Regions from separate parts of the Homo sapiens genome. Here region 2 is linked to region 1. The links are contacts of gene promoters, found by promoter capture Hi-C in blood cells and fetal thymus (Javierre and others, 2016). All regions are on one chromosome and are shown on one strand. Each heading gives the region's core, a stretch centred on a gene start or on the middle of the fragment in contact. The rest is flanking DNA. Distances are from core to core; before and after follow the strand shown.

Evidence for each region. Contacts are between HindIII fragments. The CHiCAGO score rates a contact against its expected background, and 5 or more counts as called.
Region 2: a contact is called between a fragment that was not itself captured here and the fragment with the promoter of GDI1 in region 1, in 2 of 17 cell types (monocytes and activated CD4 T cells). The highest score is 8.3, in monocytes.

Annotation. Positions count from the first base shown.
Region 1 is chrX:154,435,648-154,438,403 of GRCh38, reverse strand. It overlaps GDI1 (GDP dissociation inhibitor 1), which reads right to left and starts at 1,250. Exons shown (of 11, transcript NM_001493.3): 1 at 1,105-1,250. The coding sequence starts at 1,149. It overlaps ATP6AP1 (ATPase H+ transporting accessory protein 1), which reads right to left. Exons shown (of 10, transcript NM_001183.6): 10 at 1,888-2,722. The coding sequence ends at 2,513. RefSeq lists an enhancer at 1,218-1,718. The HindIII fragment of the contact is 14,364 bases long and covers 1-2,756 here.
Region 2 is chrX:154,355,270-154,358,338 of GRCh38, reverse strand. FLNA (filamin A) reads left to right here. Exons shown (of 48, transcript NM_001110556.2): 28 at 1-140; 29 at 716-905; 30 at 1,065-1,088. Among named protein-coding and RNA genes, the nearest start is that of FLNA, 18 kb to the left of the region's middle. The HindIII fragment of the contact is 1,643 bases long and covers 429-2,071 here.

The sequences.
Region 1 (2,756 bases), core at 1-2,500:
CTGGCTAGTTGCCTCGCCTAAAATTGGGGTGATGGCTTCATCCGACCACACTCTCCATTGCAACCTTGCTGGGCAAAGGAGTCCCGTCCCCCTCACAAGGCGGAGAGTGAAATAACGGAGGCTTTGAGGGAGGCAGGGCATCCAGCAGACACAGGATGGCCTTCCAGTACCAACACGCCGAGAGGCATCTACCTACGCAGAGCCGCACAAAAAGGCGGATAAAACACAATAAGGCACAGAGAAGACCCAGCTGGACTGCAAAGGACACTCGAAAGGGAGGAAAAGAAAGGCTTAGCACAGTCCTTGAAATTGTAGGCCCCACCCTGGACTGCTCTTTCTTCAAATAGCAGGAGCCCCTGCCGCTGAGGAGGGGCATCTGGGCCTGGACCGAGGAAGAAGAGTCTCTGAGGGGAGTAGGCCAACGGGGTTTTCGGGGAAAGGGGGAAGATAAACACCCTCACCAGTCACTGTCACTAGCCCAAGGACAAAGGCTGCAGATGCTACCCAGCCTGAGGTCTCCATGGGCAACCGAGGTGGGGTTGCGGGAATGTGCTTACTGCCCCCACTGCTGTTCCTTCTGGAACATTCCCTGGATCCCCTGGCCCCAGAAGACGATGAGGAGGCGGGCTGAGGGCCCACTCTGGCGAGGCCCCCTGACCCCAGGTCCTTCTACTTCATCCCCACCGGGATTAGCGCAAGATGGGAACGGACGCTGAGAGGCAACGCTAGGCGGGCAATGGGTGCGGGCGACGGGTGGATGCCGTGATGGGTGGGGGCGATGGGTGGGCGGGGTCGTGGGCATCGGGCCGAGTGGGGGTGCGTTTTCCGGTCCAGCGGGCAGGGGTAGGGAAGATGGGAGGGCGCCGGGGGTCGGACCCGGGTAGCCCAGGAGGCGGCCAGGAAGGGGGCCTCTTCGGGGAGATGGGGTCATGGCAACGAGCAGAGGCGACGTCGCTGGGGGAGCAGCGGGGTGGGCACGGCGCCGGCTTTTCGGGGAGCGGAGCGCAGAAGATGGCAGTGACCAGAGGATGGGCCGGCGGCCGCATCATCGCGGGGGATGGCGAGGGCACGACGCAGGGCCAGGGGCGCCGGGGCCGCACTTACGGTGAGACCGGTCCCCAGCACGATCACATCGTATTCCTCGTCCATGGTCAGGCCTCGGTGCCAGCGCCCGCTCGGCTCCTCCTCCTCCTTCACCGCAGCAGTCGCCGCCGCCACCGCCGCCGCCGCCACCGCACTGGACCAAAGATGGCGGCGCGTCGGCCGTCGCCCGACCCCTCCGCCGCGTCAAAGAGTCCCGCCTCTTCCCGCGCCCCGCCGCAACCGGCAGGGGCCACCGCCTCCCCGGCTCGCCTCCCGGGAGGGCTGCCAGGGCCCGGGCCACAGCACCAGCGCGGCTCCGCGGGCGACGCTGCTCGCCGAGAGTCTAGAGAGGCGCGGGGCGGGGCGGGCGGGGCGGGCCGGCGGCCGGTGCTGCGGCCCAGGAAGAATCCGTGCGCGGGAGCCGCGCGCGCCCCGCCCCACCCGCCGCGCCCCGCCCCGCCCCGCCCCGCGCGCGCCCGCCCACCTCCCCACCCCCGCCCACCCCCCCGGGAGTCTCGGCGCGGCCCCGCGGCCGGGCGCGCGCCGCTGCGGCAGCCTGGGGCGGCCCCCTCACGACGCGAAGGCTGCCATTGTCACGACGGCCTCCTGAGACGCCGAAGCGCACCGGGACTCGGCCCGACCGCCCCTCCCTACCCTGAGCGGTTAGGGCCCAGCTTGCTAAAGCCCCTCCCGGTCTCCGCGGATGCCTCTTCGCCTCCCCCTCGCCAGGCTCCATCCTCCCGCATCCCTCCGGCGAGCACGCGCCTAAAGCCCAGCGCAGAAATGAGCGACAAGAGGCCCAACGCATGGCGACCCGCGTTTATTTTATTAGGAAGGAAACAACCAAGCACCCCATGCTCCTGCCCGGCACTCCCGGTGGGAACATGCCAAACAGCCGGCGATCGCACCCAGCCCACCTGTCGTGGAGGTCCCTTCCTTCTCAGGCCACAGAAATAAACCCGTGTACTTCTTATTGTTAGCACAACATCACCAGAAAACGATAACGACAGCCAAGCAGGACAGACAGTTAAGTAGTACTTCCACACTCCCAAACTCAGGGAGCCCTATAACCTTAAGGAGGGAGCATTTGCTACACAAAAGCACTATCCACAGCCAGGGATGATGTAGCCACAAGAATAAATAAGGAGAAAGGAGACCCTAGAATTCATGTCCCTTACGCCTCACAGCGACGAACCCTGGGAAGCTGGTTGGTCTAGCATCTACGCAGAATATGTACACCTTGTTGGGAGAGATGGGGGCAGCCCAAGAAAGCTCCTCAGCGGGCTGAAGAGGGAGCAAGATGGGCTGAGGGGAGCTTGCAGTTCATGCTGCAGTAGGAAGAGGGAAGCTCTTCAGTCCAGTGCGCTGCAGGGTGGGAAAGCAACAACACGGACACCGTCCCACCCTCAACCCCCCCACTGGCACAGGGTCACACAATCTGGGTCAAAGAAATAGTGGGGCCCTTGTGGTCATCAAAGCGATCCATGGTCTTGAGGCTGAGGATCATGTGCAGGCCATAGGTGAAGATGAAGAGCATGAACAGGGAGGTGAGCAGCCCCATCCAGATGCCGGGGGAGAAGAAGCTGGCACAGTCGCTGGCGTAGGAGAACTGCTCCCCCATTACGTTGAAAGCCTGGATCTGGCAGACACACAGACACGGGTCAGAAAGGACC
Region 2 (3,069 bases), core at 1-2,500, 80 kb after region 1:
TGCTGCCTACTCATGATGCCAGCAAGGTGAAGGCCAGTGGCCCCGGGCTCAACACCACTGGCGTGCCTGCCAGCCTGCCCGTGGAGTTCACCATCGATGCAAAGGACGCCGGGGAGGGCCTGCTGGCTGTCCAGATCACGGTGAGCTCCGGGCACAGGCAGGGGAGGCAGGGGGGCCTGGGCGGCTGGAGTGTGGGCTGCGGGTGGCTGGTGTCTGATCTCCCTGCGGAGCTGCACCAAGGAGGGCAGGGAAGGACAGGGCCCCTGTCTTTGGTTTGCTAAGGTTGTGACTACCTTAGGATGGTGGTGACAGGCACAGGCTTCCCCAGACGTGCACTTGCTGCTAACTTTGAGCACGTCACCAAAGCCTTCTGTGCCTCAGTTTCCCCACCTGTAATATTCTCATGGGGCAGGTATAGGATAGAAGCTTGAGATCACCCCGGTGAGCTCCTCCTAGTGCTGGCCAGGCCCTGGGGCTGAGGATGGGTGCCAAGCTGGCTGGCCGCGCCTGTTGTCATGTGGGAAGTGTGGGATGTTTTAGTCTCCATTCTGGACTCTGCCAGGTGCAGGCAGCCCTTTTGGGCCATAGCAGTTAAGATGCCTGAGGCCCAGAGACTGTCCCTGTAGCAGCAGCGCTGGGCACTCTGGGAGCGCCTGAGGCAGGCCCGGGGCTACTCGGGCTTGGGCCAACTGCCTCCCCTGCCTCTGCCACACAGGATCCCGAAGGCAAGCCGAAGAAGACACACATCCAAGACAACCATGACGGCACGTATACAGTGGCCTACGTGCCAGACGTGACAGGTCGCTACACCATCCTCATCAAGTACGGTGGTGACGAGATCCCCTTCTCCCCGTACCGCGTGCGTGCCGTGCCCACCGGGGACGCCAGCAAGTGCACTGTCACAGGTGAGCCCGCCCGCTGTTGGCCGCTGCGGCGCTCGGCACGGGGCTTGGGTTGTGCCTGTGTGCAAGGGCTCGCTGCTTGGGGCGGCGTGTGGGAGTGGGGGCCGCCCCCTTGAGTGACTCACCTGACCTTTCTCCTTGCTCTCTGCCCTCTCACCTCAGTGTCAATCGGAGGTCACGGGCTAGGTAAGCTGCTTGCTGGGGCCACTCCCAATGCCCCTCCTGCCCAGAGGGGCAGCTTCCTTTCCTCTTGGGGCCGATTCCCAGGACAGTTCCAGCTGCAGCTCTAGGCAGGGACAGAGTTGGGTGGGGTGCAGAAGATGAGGCCGTGGGCTGGAGGGCGAGGGCCCAGGGAGGCTTCCGGAGCTGAGCATGACCGCTCCAGCTCTTCCCCTCTCTGGGCCTTTATTTCCCCATCTGAGAACTCGGGTTGCAGCTGAGAGCTTTGGGGTGAGGTGCATCCTGAGAGGCACCCCACTGGGGACTTTGGGGTCTCGGGATCTTGGCACCCAGGGAGGCACAAGGGCTCCTGCGTGGGCTGAGGGAACAAGGGGTCTCCCCAACTCAATGGGAGCCCCAGCCCTGGCCAGATCCACAGACCCCCATCCCCACCTTCCAGGGGCCTCTGCGTCCCGGGCCGGGGGAGGTGCATGAGCGGGTGGGGCTGGCTGGTAGTGCAGTAGCGCCAGTGTCGACTGCTTGGGCGGCCAGCATGGCGGGGCCCGGCCCAGCCTCAGAGCCCCAAAGTGCATTCTGTGGCCCGTCTCCCTCCTTCCCCCTTCCCCTATCCCCCAGCAGTGACGTTATTCAGACATTCCCCAACAGGCATGGAGGGTCACCTGCCCCAGCCAGGGACACCCAGGGATGCTGATGAGAGGCTACAGGCCTGGCACTTGGGCGAGGTGGCTAAGGAAAGGGTGAGAGGGTGGCTAGAGTTTTGCGGCAGGAGCGAGATGGCTTTATAGAGCAGGCCGTAGGATCCGATGTGTGTGTGACAGGCGTGTGTGCGCAGGGCGGGGGAGGCTGGGGAGTACTGATTGCAGGGCCTTGGGGGCTTTGAGGGTGGGAGCAAGACTCAGTAACCTCAGTTTCCCTGGCTACTGTTTGCAGAATGGAGACAGGGAGCCCGGGGTGGGGAAGGGGGCGCTGAAGTTGCTCTCTGGCAAGCTTGACGGCCACGGGGCTTCAGTGAGAGCCAAATTAGGAGGCATACTTTGAGGATGGAGTGGCTGAGACCTGCGGTTGGCTGGGAGCCGGGCAGGGAAAGTGGGGGCAGTCGGGTACCTGTGAGGTTGGGGCCCAAGCCACTAACTAGATGGCATGGGGTGCACATGAGTGAAGCCTCCCAGGGCAGCGTGGGCAGCCGGCAGCCAGGTCTGGAGCCTGGGAGAGCTGCCTGGCCGCGGCAGGCCAGCATGGAGCCTAGTGCAGCAGGAGCCCTCGGCCGATAGTGGGACTTGGTGGCAGGGCCCCTCGAGCTTGGCCTTCAAGTAGGTTTCGTGCTCCTGGCTGCTTCCCTGGCAGGAGGCCAGGCTGCAGGGGGCACTCTCACTGCCAGGCCTCACAGCCCACAGCCCCCCAAGCCTCCACGGCGGAGACCCAGATCATAACGTCACTGTCTCTCCCCTTTCCTCGGGCACTCTGGGGCCCTGGAGCCTGCTCAGCTGCTCTGCCCTCGCAACCCAGCAGTGGTGGCTGTAGCTTGGGCCTCCTGTTCCCTGTCTCCCTGGGTGCTATCCCCGCTCTGCCAAGCCTGCTGCGCTGCGCTACTCGGGTGCTAACCCCGCTGCCTCCCGCTTCCCCGCTCCCACTCCTGTCTGCACCGGGCTGCTTTTCACCGCGAGCCTTCTCAGTTGTCAGGAAACTCCGGTTTCACCATCAGGCCTGGGGGGTGGGGAGGCAAGTGTCACATCCCCCCACGCTGCAGCAGGACTCCGCCTCACCGCGTCCACACACAGCAATGGGGGCCGGGGCCAGGCCAGAAGGGCGCAGGCAGCCGTGTGCCCAGCCAGATGCTGGCGTTCAGCAGTGTGGGCCATGGTGCTGGACGAGGCTGAGTAGGCAAGGGAGTGGCTGTCAACACTTAGGCTGGAGTGGGCCCTTCCTTTTCCTCCCAGGCACCTGGGTGCTACTGTCGGGCCTCTCCCACATGGGCACTTGAGGTGGT